2 separate regions of the Homo sapiens genome follow, and region 1 is linked to region 2. The links are contacts of gene promoters, found by promoter capture Hi-C in blood cells and fetal thymus (Javierre and others, 2016). All regions are on one chromosome and are shown on one strand. The core of a region is centred on a gene start or on the middle of the fragment in contact, and the rest is flanking DNA. Distances in the headings are between cores, read along the strand shown.

Region 1 (7,105 bases), core at 320-2,819, 610 kb before region 2:
CCAATGGGGTGGCATGGCTGTGGTGTAGGTGAGTGAAGCACCATGGTGTGAGGGGTCCCCGGCAATGCCTCCCACCTTTTTGAATCTCCAGTGTCTATTATTCCACTATTTCCATATGTATACATCATTTAGCTACCACTTATAAGTGATAACATGCAGTATTTGACTTTGTTTCTGAATTATTTCACTTAAGAGAATGGCCCCCCAGTTCCAGCCATATTGCTGCAAAAGCCATGATTTTTTTTAATGACTGAGTAGTATTCCATGGAGTGTATATATATATACACATATATACATATACATACATATATATACATATATATACATATACATACATATATACATATATACATATACATACATATATATACATATATATACATATACATACATATATATACATATATATACATATACATACATATATATACATATACATACATATATATACATATATATACATATACATACATATATACACATATATATACATATACATACATATATACATATATATACATATACATACATATATACATATATATACATATACATACATATATACATATACATACATATATATACATATATACATATACATACATATATATACATATATATATCGCATTTTCTTTATCCAATCATCTGTCGATGGACACTTAGGTTGATTCTATGACTTTGCTACTGTGAATAGTGCTACAGTAAGCATGTAAGTACAGGCATCTTTTTGATATAGTGGTTTATTTTCCTTTAAGTAAATACCCAATAGTGGAATTGCCAGATCAAATGGCAGTTCTATTTTCAGTTCTTTGATAAATCTCCATACTGTTTTCCATAGAGGTTGTACTAATTTACATTCCCACCAATAGCATATAAGCGTTCCCTTTTCCTTGCATCCATACCAACATCTGTTGGTTTTTTACTTTTTAATAATAGCCACTCTGACCAGTATAAGATGGCATCTCAGTGTGTTTATGTGTGTGTGTTTTCTCTCATCATATCTCATTATAACCTCAAATTCCTGGGCTCAAGCAATCCTCTTGCTTCAGCCTCCCAGTGTCTAGGACTACAGGTGTACACCATCATGCCTTGCTCTTTTTTTTTTTTTTGGTAGATATAACATCTTACTATATTGCCCAGGGTGGTCTCAAACTCCTGACCTCAGCAATTATTTTGTGTTGGCATCCCAAAGCACTGAGATTACATATATGAGCTACCTCCCTAAAATAAGGGAAGTGAGCCAGAAGCTCTGGGCCCAGCCCATGATCTCAATCGGGGCGAATATCCCCGCCTCCTGACCTCAATTTTCCTAAGCTAGAAAGGACCTTTCGACCCTCCGACTTGTGCCCATAGTAAAGCGGCGGCCCTAAGACGACGCGGGGGTCCTTGTGCGCACTTAAATGGAGTCGGCTGCGCTTGGTGAGTTCCCACACCCGGTAGATGTGAGGGAAAAACTGCCTTACTCAGAAGGCACCACCCCTTGCGTCGGCCGCGGACTCTAGGCCAATGACGGGCCAGGACACGGGCGATTTCTGCGGGCCAGGGCGGCGGAGGTGGGACTTCCGCTTCGTCGCGTGACGTCATCTCCGTGAGCAGGATTGGCCCTGGAACAGTGTGGGGCCTGGACCGCTGGGTAGGCGCGTCCAGCGGCCTGAGCAGGGGAGGGTAATGAGGCTGTTACGCGCCTTCTCCGCATCTTGGCGGGAGCCTGACGCCCCGCTTCTTCCCTAACGGGGTGTTCCACCGGCGCCTGCCGAGGCCTAGGCCTCCGCAGCCGCCCTCCGTCTCCTCAGCCCCGACGCTGCGCCCGCTTTGTGCGCATTTTTCTCTGGGGAAACTGAGGCTCCGAGTGCGAAAGTCAGCCGAGGTCGCCCCGCCCAGGACAGAGAAGGGCTGGGGGTCGGCTGAGCCGCGGCATTCCCGGGCCCCGCTAGGGCTGCAGGGTCTCAGGATGGCAGCCTCGGCGCAGGTGAGTGGACGAGGTTTTGGCCTTGCTGCTGCTCTGCTACTTCTGGAGGCCTCGTGGGCAGGCAGAAGCCAAGACAGCCACAGGATGTTTCTTTGTCGCCGTCGTTTATTTAAGAGAAGTGGCCGTAGCTTGTCATTTCCTTTATCCGCAGTCCTGCAATAGTGTTGGCCTCCGACAGGTGCTCAGTCCTTGGTAGAAGGATGAATGATGCTTCCTTCATGGATCTCATCACACTTCCCTTAAATCCAACCTCCTCTGTTGCCTGCCAGCCCCTACCCCATCCACCTGGCCAACCACCCCTGACCTTGTCTCTCCATTTTTCCCTTGTCCTTTGCTCTTCAGAGCCACCAACCTGACCGTGCAGTCTTCTTCCTTTTTCCAGGCTTTCTCTTTGCACTTCCCTTTGCCTTGAACACTGCCCCTATAACTTCGCAGGGCCTCCCTCTCATATCTTTCTGGCCTCTGTCCAGATGTCACCTATTTGGAGGTGGCTTTCTTGGCAATTCCGGCTAAAGTGGCGCCTTACGCACTTGCCCATTTTTGGCAATGTGTGGCATTTTTGTATAGAGAATCTGACGATATTAAAGAAGCTTGCCGTTTGAGTTGGTCTAGGATGTTATGTGAACAAAGAGAAACGAAATAATTGCAAAGAGTGACAGCTGATCATAAAGAGTCCTTGCTGTGGGCTGATTGGCAGGCATTATTTAACCCTCAGCTCCTTTAATCCTGAACTCCTTAGAATTAGGTTCTCTTGTCCTCACTGTTTTACACAAGAGCAGCTGGAGGCTCACATAGGTTCAATTACCTGCCTTACATCACTGTAGCTCTTAAGTATCAGAAACTAACAACTGGTGTGTCTACCATCACAGCCTGTGTTTTTACCCTCTTCTTTGCCCGCAATGGTTAGGGAGGCCTGGGGGTGACACCTAAAGTAAACTTTGCAAGTTGAGCAGGCTTCCTTCTAGCAGGTGGTCTTGGACATGAGGAGTCATGGCATTTCATGCTGGTGGAACTGTGTGGACTAAAAAAAAATGGTTTATTGGTTGTTTAAGGAGTCCGCAGGGGACCCGTGTGGCTTCCACAGTGGTTTCCTGAGTGGTTTTCTCCTATACCAGCTGACACATGTCTTGGGACACAAGATTTTGTGGTCTTTTGCTAGATGTGCCTTCCTCCTTAGCCAGGACAGACATAGCCAGTCAGGGGCCCATGTTCTCATGGCTACAACCTGCTGTGTCCTCTGTGACTCTTGTTCCTTGCTCCTGAAGTATCCTGACCTCAGGGATACTTGTTGGTAGGACTCAAACAGGAAAAGGTAGTGATAGCTCGTTGTGGATTCTTCCTATGAGAATGGGCATCTGTGAGGCCCAGAAGTGTCCGAGGCAGCAGATGCAGGTCCAGGCCCTGCCACTTTTGAGGCAGGTGCCACCACCTCAGGTGACTCTTCTGTGAGGTAGGTGATTATGACTATGCTGCTCTGCCCAGGTCCATGAAAATATTTCAAGTGGCTAACCCCAGCACAGTGGCATGTGTCTGTATATCCAGCTTGGGAGGCTAAGGCAGGAGGATCATGAGTTCAAGCCCAACCTGGGCAAAATATTGAGACCCTGTCTCAAAAAAAAAAAAAAAAATCCTGAAAATATTTTCAGGGTGGCTCAAATGGATGTATTTCAATGTTTCCCATCCTCATTAACTGTGCATTAACTTTGCTAATGAAGGAGTGTCGGGTTGCATGATTAGAACATAGACCATAGGGCCCTGGGTTCAAATTCTGTCTCTCCTGATAAGAGATGTGACTTTGGGTAGACTAGTGGAGGTCCTGGACCTCAAGTCTCTGAGTGTGACATGGAGATGATGATGGTGAACTCAGGAGCTGTGGCCCTTTGCCCCAGTGTTTCCTTTACAGCTTTTCTTCAGATCTTTTGACTATTCTTGGTGAAGTGGAAAACCCTGTTGTGTTGACCTGGACATCAGGGCTCAGATAAATGAAATGAGATTTCCAAGGTCACATAGCAGGCTTGTGTTGATTTCAGGAATTTGGTTTTAAACCTCAGGAGTCTGACTCCTGAGCTGGGGACTTTTAGTCACTTTACCATGGCATGTAAAGCCATTAGCATGAGGCAGGCTCACAGGGAGGATCGGTAAGACTCAGGTGCTGTTCTTGTTGTTGTTGCTGGTGTTGTTTTTGTTATTATTCTTTCCCATTCCTCTGATGTCTCAGAGCACTTACTGTCTTGCCTCTCAGTCCCCTTAGGATTGTCCTAACCTTATTTCTGTGTGAAGTGGCTTTCTGCATAGGAGGCTTCTCTCTCTTCACTGCTGTAATTTTTTTTTTTTTTTTTGAGACGAGTCTCGCTCTGTCACCCAGGCTGGAGTACAGTGGCACGATCTCGGCTCACTGCAAGCTCCGCCTCCCGGGTTCACGCCATTCTCCTGCCTCAGCCTCCCGAGTAGCTGGGAATACAGGCGCCCGCCACCGCGCCCGGCTAATTTTTTTGTATTTTTAGCAGAGACGGGGTTTCACCATGTTAGCCAGGATGGTCTCGATCTCCTGACCTCGTGATCTGCCCTTCATGGCCCCCCAAAGTGCTGGGATTACAGGCGTGAGCCACCGCGCCTGACCGACACTGCTGTAATTTATCCAAGGCAATGTCCACATTCCCCTCATGCCTGGCACAGATCATGGCCCTCTAGAGATGCTTGGTGATTTGATTCTTGGGTCACTGCGCATCTTTTGCAGTGCTGAAGTGACAAGTTCTAGTTGTATTCCACAGTTCCAAGGGAAACACTACTATCTCTGTTTAATTTTCCAGGTGTCTGTGACCTTTGAGGATGTGGCTGTGACATTCACCCAGGAGGAGTGGGGACAGTTGGATGCAGCCCAGAGAACCTTGTATCAGGAGGTGATGCTGGAGACCTGCGGACTTCTCATGTCTCTGGGTAAGGCCCCTTCTGGTCCTGTGCTCCCTTAGGATTGAGTTCTCCTACTCATGTTCCCCTCTCTCCTCCACAGCCCACTTGTTCTGAGGCTCCTGGCACCACGCAGGGGTGTTCACCATTGGCTCTGAGCGTAGCACTTGGGAGACCAGGGTCTGGTGTCCAGGAGTCCACTCCCATCTCCACTGCTCATGATCCCTGTGTTCCTGGGCAAGTTAAGGAATCCCTCTGTGCCTCAGTTTTTCTCATGAATAAAAAGGGCCAGGCCAGGCACAGTGGCTCATGTCTGTAATCCCAGCACTTTGGGAGGCCGACGCGGACAAATCAGGAGGTCAGGAGTTTGAGACAAGCCTGGGCAACATGGTGAAATCCCGTCTCTACTAAAAATACAAAAAATTAGCCGGGTGTGATGGCGGGTGCCTGTAATCCCAGCTACTCAGGAGGCTGAGGCAGGAGAATCACTTGAACCCGGGAGGCGGAAGTTGCAGTGAGCTGAGATCTCATCACTACACTCCAGCCCAGGCGACAGTGTGAGAGAGACTCCGTCTGAAAAAAAAAAAAAAAAAAGGCCAATATAGTATTTGTTTCATAGGGCTAGTGTGAGGGCAAATGGTTCAGTAGAGTGTGTTGTGATAGGTGGCTGGGCGCAGGTTAGCAATTGTGACCTCTGTTGCTGTCACTATTGTCACTGCTGTCTAAATCATTGTCCTCATAATCAGCAGTATCACACTTGGACTCCGCAGTTTTTGGAACAACTTTGTATAGTTTTTTAGTTAAATTGGCCAGATGCTTTTGATGACTAGACTCAGGTGTACATTTTGGCTTGGCCATTCGCCATTTCCCAGATTTTGGCAAGTCACTTTATCTGCCTGAGCCTCGATCTCTTCATCTATAATGTGGTCCTGATTGCAGTACATTCTTAATGTGCATCCTGTGAAGAAATCCTAAAATAGAATTTTTCATGCAGGGACCATAGGAGTAGCAATGTAATGCTTTGCTTAGAATGTAAAAAAAAAGCCTTAGGTCAGTGAAGAAACTTACCTTTCTCCTGAATGGAGACTCAGTATCTCAAATATGTTATTTCTTTTCTAAACTAATGACTAAATTTAATTGAGTGTTTATAAAATACAATGCATTTAAATTGCTTGGCATATTCCCTAGGTTATAGTTACATTGTATAAATATCAGTTATTGACATACTATTAGGAGTAAAGTTCTATGGCCAGGTGGCATATTGATTAAGGACTTGGATTTGAGAGCCACAGCAGCAAAGTCTCTCCAAGAAGTGACATTTGAGCTGAGACCCAAAGAGTGAGTTGATTAGAAGGAGCAAGATAGAGGAGCAAGTAGTATTCCAAGTAGGCAGGCTGGCATGTGCAAAGGCCCTGAGGTGGTGAAGAGCATGATCCTGACAAAGCTGAAGGAAGGTCTGATTCCCCTTTTTCACTGCACTGTCATTGAACCCAGTGCCAAGCACATAGCAAAAATGAGTGAACATTTGCTTAGAGATGACTGATGAATCCCACCCTGTGTTTTTGTGGGTCCTACTGCCTGTGCCATTAACTTCTCCATAGAGTACTTATGTCTTTTACCCCCTTATATTTTGAAAAGTTTTGGGCTATATGTGCAGATCAGCTCATACAGTCTTAACCCTGAAGGAAATATATTATCTCACCTAATAAGCTTAGTGGTAAGGCTGGCTCCTGGGTTGGTGGGTGTCAAGCCAGTTGTCTTTCTTTGCTCCCACTTTCTTTTTTCTTTTTTGGAGACAGGGTCTCACTCTGTAACCCACACTGGAGTGCAGTGGTACGATCTCAGCTCACTGCAGCCTCACCTTCCAGTCTCAAGTGATCCTCCCACCTCAGTCTCCTAAGTAGCTGGGACCACGGGTGCATGACACCACACCCGGCTACTTTTTGTATTTTTAGTAGAGATGGGGTTTCACCATTTGCCCTAGCTGGTCTCAGACTCCCAAAGCGTTGGGATTACAAGCGTGAGCCACTGTGCCCAGCCTCTTTGCTCCCTCTTCTTGGTAAGGTTTTTAGGCAGGTTCCCTCACAGAATTCCCAGGATGCTGCATGGCAGCAGGAGTGGCAGCCTCCCTCATTTAGCCCTTCCTGAAAGAGAAGGTTTTTTCTCTCTTTGGAGTGGCTGGTATAGGTCACCTGCCTACCTCAGAGTACAGTTGATCAGGGTTGCCAT
Region 2 (6,250 bases), core at 2,919-5,418:
TCTTGTTGCCCAGACAAGAGTGCGGTGGCGGGATCTCAGCTCACTGCAACCTCCACCTCCCAGGTTCAAGCAATTTTCCTGCCTCAGCCTCCCAAGTAACTGGGATTACAGGCACCCACCACCACACCTGGCTAATTTTTGTATTTTTAGTAGAAATGGGGTTTCACCATGTTGGCTAGGCTGGTCTCAAACTCCTGATCTCAGGTGATCCACCCACCTCGGCCTCCCATAGTGCTGGGATTATAGGCATAAGCCACCACGCCCGGCCTTACACATCATTCTTTAGATAGCACAGGCACATGTCACGGCCAGCCCAACATGACATCCCCCAACCATCAGCTTCTTTTGAGCCTTAACACAAATTACAGTTTTGGTTTCTTTTAGTCAGGTTCTCCTTTGGTCGCCTAAGCTGGAGGGGAGTAGTGTGATCATGGCTCATGGAAAGTTCAAACCCCTTAGCCCCAGGCCTCAGCCTTCTGTGGAGATGGGATCTTACGTATGTGCAACATCAACCACTTTCTTTTAAGAGATGGGGTGTTGCTAAGTTGCCCAGGCTGATCTCAAACTCCTGGCCTCAAGCAATCCTCCCACCTCAGCCTCCCAAAGTGCTGGGATTACAGCATGAGCCTTCAAGCCTGGCCAACAAAGTATTTTAATCCCCTTCTTTTCCTTCTACTGCTCTGAGTGGGATTCTCCCCTTAGGGTTATAGTGTTGGGGAAACAATTGACACCTGAGACTGTACATATGCCATCCACAGCAATTTCAAAATCAAATAACTCACAGCCTGGCAGAGAGGGCCACATGGGGGTTGCACTGTGGACAACAAATGGAAACCAGGGACAGTGTTATGCACACTTTGTAGGATGAAGAGGGTGTGATAGCCCCTGATTTCTCAGGAGGGTGCCACTGACTTGCTTAAATAATTCTGAGTAGAAATGGAATTGAAACCCAGTACAAAGTATAATAACCAGAAACTGTGCCTGATCCCTTAATGAAAAGGGTTGTTAGGCCAGGATACATTATCCAATAGAACAGAGTGGGAAGGGGATTTGTGCTCAGGCCATTTGAGGTCATACAGTATCACCACACACCAACGTTGCACATCACATTGGCCTTTCATTTTCGGCCTTATGCCACAATGTGGCTGACAGAATTCAGAGTATGCTTGGCAAATTCAAACAGGATCCAATATTACCACAGAATTCTCATGGCTCCCAATAGCAATGCAGTCCCAAGTCATTCTATGAAGGCCTTCTTGCATGGCTCCACATCCCCACAGAACCAGGTGGGGCTTTAGATATCCATGGCCCTATTCCACTTCTGTGTTGCACTTGGTGACCCCTCTACAATGACGACTTTCCTCTGTCCACCTAGAGTCATTTAAATCCCACTCCCTTGTTATGGAGAATGGTCTAAGAAAAGTGGAAAACAAAAGAAAAAAATAAATAAAATCCCAGCCCATCAGCTGTCCACCCCAGGCCCAATGTCTGTCACAGATAACCAAATTTACCCTGAGCATGTATCCACCAGGCCGAATGAAAACCCCCAAGCACCAACAAAGTTTTCTCAAAATCTTGGTGAGTCCACAGAGTGGTGAATAAGTACCAGCCTTGGCCCAAGTGTCATCTTCCTTCAATTATTTCTATGCTTCTGCTTACATCTCTTATCTATTCTACCCTTGGAAAGCCTATGCCCCCTGACAAACCATGTTGTCTGACATACCCTATCTTCATGAGCCCTTGCCTCCTTCTCCTGTGGCAATGTCAGCCAGGGACCCAAGCAAGAAATTCAGCCCTCAGCCTGCAACCACCCCTTCCTGGCCCCCACAAAAGATTTACCATGAAAATTTGAAGTGTGTCAATGTCATAATGGAGGCTAAACTATCTCAGACTCTTAACATGGTCAAAACAACATTCTTCACATCCCCAATGAATATTATACCTACTATGTGCTCATCTCAGTTGATGCAGCTTCCATCACTGCAGATGCTAAGACCAAAAACCTGGTGGTCATACCTGATTCCCCTTTCATGCCCTCACAGTCTATTAGAAAATCTAGTTACCGACCGGGCTTGGTGGCTCACGCCTGTAATCCCAGCACTTTGGGAGGCCGAGACGGGTAGATCACGAGGTCAGGAGATCAAGACCATCTGGCTAACACGGTGAAACCCCATCTCTACTAAAAATATTAAAAATTAGCCGGGCATGGCCGGGCTTGGTGGCTCATGCCTGTAATCCCAGCACTTTGGGAGGCCGAGGCCGATGGATCACGAGGTCAGGAGATTGAGACTATCCTGGCTAACACAGTGAAACCGTCTCTACTAAAAAATCCAAAAAATTAGCTGAGCATGGTGACGGGCGCCTGTAGTCCCAGCTACTCGGGAGGTTGAGGCAGGAGAATGGCGTGAACCCGGGAGGCAGAGCTTGCAATGAGCCAAGATCGTGCCACTGCACTCCAGCCTGGGCGATAGAGCGAGACTCCCGCTCAAAAAAAAAAGGAAAATCTAGTTGCCATTTTACAAACTGTGAATCTTGAATCCAGCCACAGCTCCTTACTCATTAATATGGTCCAGTAACCCTCACCTGCATTATGGCAGGAGTTTAAACTCTGATCCTCCTTCCTCCTCCCTCAAACACAGTGTGTTCTCTTCTTTGCAGCCAGATGATGCCTGCAGACAAATGGGACTGTGGTAACATCACCTCCTCGCCGCCCTCTTGCCTCCCCACCGAATTTTTACCTCTAAGCATTTCATGACCTGGTACCAACTCTGTAGTTAACCTTCAAAGTATGTTTACATGGGTTGACAGAAATGGGAATACCTCCATACATCCTGTGTCATGGACTTAGGATTCTGGGTTTAGGGTTTCTCCAGTGTTCTCAGATCAAAGGACTGAAAAAATGGCAAGTAAGAGTCCCAGGACATCACAAGCTAGAGAACATGTGAATGGGGAATAAGGCCAGTGAGGGAATGGAACACCCTCTAATTCCCTCTGTGGGTTCCTTTTTTTGAGCCAGAGTTTCGCTCTTGTTGCCCAGGCCGGAGTGCAATGGCTCACCGCAACCTCTGCCTCCCGAGTTCAAGCAATTCTCCTGCCTTAGCCTCTGAGTAGCTGGGATTACAGTCATGCGGCATCACCACGCCTGGCTAATTTTGTATTTTTGTTAGAGACGGGGTTTCTCCATGTTGGTCAGGCTGGTCTCGAACTCCCGACCTCAGGTGATCCGCCCGCCTCGGCCTCCCAAAGTGCTGGGATTACAGGTGGGAGCCACCTTGCCCGACCCCCTCAGTGGGTTCTTTACGTGCTTTTGTAGCCAGGAGTGTCTGAGGGGAAAGCAGACGTTACAAAGGGGATCTGATAAGCTCAGGTCTCCTTGAACCTTTTCTTATCGCTGGAGCCAGGTGACCTCAGACTGGTTGACCTGCGTGTCTCAGTGCAAAATGTCATCTCTACCACCTATGTGATCTATCAACAAAGGAGTCAACCTCCCAGAACCCTAAGGTCCTCATCTCCTCTACTATGTTCTTCCTTTGGCCTTTGGGAAACCTTAAAAGCCTGGACTTGGATCGCATCCCTCCTTTCTTCGAAACTCTCCATGGCTTCTAGCGTCTTCACAGCGAATACACAGCCCCCAGCCTGCTCTTCCAGGAGAAGCTTCGCCTCACACGTTGTTCCCTACAGGCGCCTGTGGACCCCAGGTTCCATCCTCCCGGGTCTGTCCTCCAGGCCATAGCCCGCGCCGGTCCCTGTGCCTGTCGCTCTCCCCACCGCATCCCACAGGTGTCAGAAACAAGGACCTCTCCCGCGAACGCCTCAGTGTCCCGACGCCGGGTCCGGGCTGCAGACCTGTGAACAGTCGCCGCTCTCTCGCTGCTTCAGGATTCGGGTTAGGATGAGGTGACCTGAGGGCAGGGAAGGCACAATTACCTGAGCCGGGAGCCTCAGCGCGGCCGCCGCCATCCCGAGTACGCGGGGAAAGCACTGCCGGGAGCGGCGGGCGCCGTTACGGGGCCTAAGATCTGCCTCTGTGCAGCAAGAAGGACTCTTCACCTTCTGGGTTCAGACACCGCGGTTCGGACCCATAGCTCCAGCGCCTCTCACCTCACAAACCGCAGAAACACACCCAACATTAACCAAAATGGTCGCTACCAGAGAACGCTGAGAATCCCGCCACTACGTTACGTGCGCACACAGAAACGCCTTTATTCTGAGCCCTTACTGGTTCTGTTGCGCTGTCATTCAATGTAGAGCTTTCTGGGTAATGTAGTTCCCCAGGTTCCAAGGTAGTAAAGCTGCCGCTTCCCAAAGGCGCTTCTGCAGGGAAGTCCCAGCCCTACCTCAGGGGGTTCATTAAAGCGCGTACCCTTTTAGGGCAGAGGATGGTCTCGCCCCTCCTTAGAGGCCATATTGAGATTCCTGGGGAATCCCTGTTTGTAACTGACCACCTAAGTGTTTGCAAAAATATTAATTCACATTTCTGTAAATTCAAGCTCCCAGGCGCTAAAAATACTGTGAAGGCCCCCAAAGGCTACAAATCCAAATTCGTGTATCACTTTATACAATCGTTTAGACACAGAATGCTTGCACTGGAAGCAGAGGCTGATAAACATTACTCTGTTATAATTCACATGAATGCACTCTTGTTACCGGATAGAATGTCTTGGCTGTGAGTTGTCCAGTTGTTGGCGCATTGAACAAAGAAGTGAACAAAACACACAAAAAAAGCAACGAAAGAACGGACCAATGAAAGCGCAGATTTATTGAGGGGAAAGTACACTCCACAGAAGTGGAATGTAGGTGTGGGAGCAGGCGACCAAGCGGCTCAAGAACCCCGATTACAATGTTTTTTAGGGTTTTATTAGGTTGGTGCAAAAGTAATTGCGGTTTTTGCCATGAATAAGCTAGAATTTTATAATACCCCAAGAGTTCTTTAAAGGCCTCCAATCCTATGAAGGACTGGTGCACAACCAATCAGAGGCTGAAGTGGAGACTTCTGTCTTGTTACCACAGGAGTGAGGACGTGGCCTGTGTGCTGCCTCATCTTGCCTAGAACTAGCTGCACCTGCTGTTCTTTTGCTTATGCCTTCATTCTTGGTTACCCTAATTCCCTATTCTCCTGCCTCACTCTGAGGCATTAGAGTTGGTTTTTCAGTCTGCCAGGGACAAAAGAGAACTAATCCAGATAGGACCATGCCAAGGAAGATAGAGGAGAGGCTAAAGAAAGAGTACAAAGGTCAATCAGTCGTTCCCATGGAAAAACAACTCTCCTGCTTATATAGTCAATTATTGTGTCCAATTCATTCAGCAAAACATTTATTCATGTAATATCCCTTACTTGGTATTCTAACTTATATTTTCAACTCATTTTAGGAACTTGAAGTCAGTCTCAGGTAAAGAACAATGAAAGAGAAATCTCAGCTTGGTATTGGTAATGGTGGTGATAATCTCCACCTGGAGACACTAGGCGTATGTTAAATTATCGAGCTTGTTATCTTTCCTGGGAAGTGATTATCATTTGTTTCTCTTGTGACAGCGGGGAGTGTTCTGCATGAGGAACTAATATGATACCAGAAAAACAGGTGAAATGCCAGTTACAGAAACTTATTACCAACGACTATCTAATAACTGCGATGACAGAAATAGGTCAATTGAAACATGAGTGGATGGTGAAAAAAATTTACACTTCACAGAAGTTTTTCTTTCTTTTTTTTTTTTTTTTTTTTTGAGACAAAGTCTCGTTCTGTCCCAGACTGGAGTGCAGTGGCGCCATCTTGGCTCACTGCAACCTCCACCTCCCGGGTTCAAGCGATTCTCCTGCCTCAGTCTCCCAAGTAGCTGGGATAACAGATGCCTGCCACCACGCCCAGCTAATTTTTGTATTTTTAGTAGAGACAAGGTTTCACCATGTTGGCCAGACTGGTCTCAAACTCTTGACCTCTGACCTGCCTGCCTCCTTCTCCCACAATGCTGACATTACAGGCATAAGTCACTGCTCCCAGCTGACTTTACAGGTGTTTGTTTGTTTGTTTGTTTGTTTTGAGAAGGAGTTTCACTCTTGTTGTCCAGGCTGGAGTACAATGGCACAGTTTCAGCTCACTGCAACCTCCTCCTCCTGGGTCAAGCAATTCATTCTCCTGCCTCAGCCTCCCAAGTAGCTGGGATTACAGGTGCCTGCCACCACACTCAGCTAATTTTTGTATTTTCAGTAGACACAAGGTTTCACCATTTTGGCCAGGCTGGCCGCAAACTC

The links. The method cuts DNA at HindIII sites, captures the fragments that hold promoters and counts their contacts. A CHiCAGO score of 5 or more calls a contact.
Region 1: the fragment with the promoter of ZNF543 here is called in contact with the fragment with the promoter of ZNF418 in region 2 in 4 of 17 cell types (naive B cells, non-activated CD4 T cells, total CD4 T cells and 1 more); the score reaches 9.2 in naive B cells.

Annotation. Positions count from the first base shown.
Region 1 is chr19:57,318,903-57,326,007 of GRCh38, forward strand. ZNF543 (zinc finger protein 543) reads left to right here and starts at 1,570. Exons shown (of 4, transcript NM_213598.4): 1 at 1,570-1,969; 2 at 4,780-4,906. The coding sequence starts at 1,952. RefSeq lists enhancers at 1-463, 1,389-1,508, 1,519-1,668. The HindIII fragment of the contact is 3,609 bases long and covers 1-2,557 here.
Region 2 is chr19:57,931,234-57,937,483 of GRCh38, forward strand. ZNF418 (zinc finger protein 418) reads right to left here and starts at 4,169. Exons shown (of 6, transcript NM_133460.3): 1 at 3,928-4,169; 2 at 2,584-2,669. The coding sequence starts at 2,589. RefSeq lists enhancers at 3,572-4,454, 4,047-4,136. The HindIII fragment of the contact is 3,111 bases long and covers 3,653-6,250 here.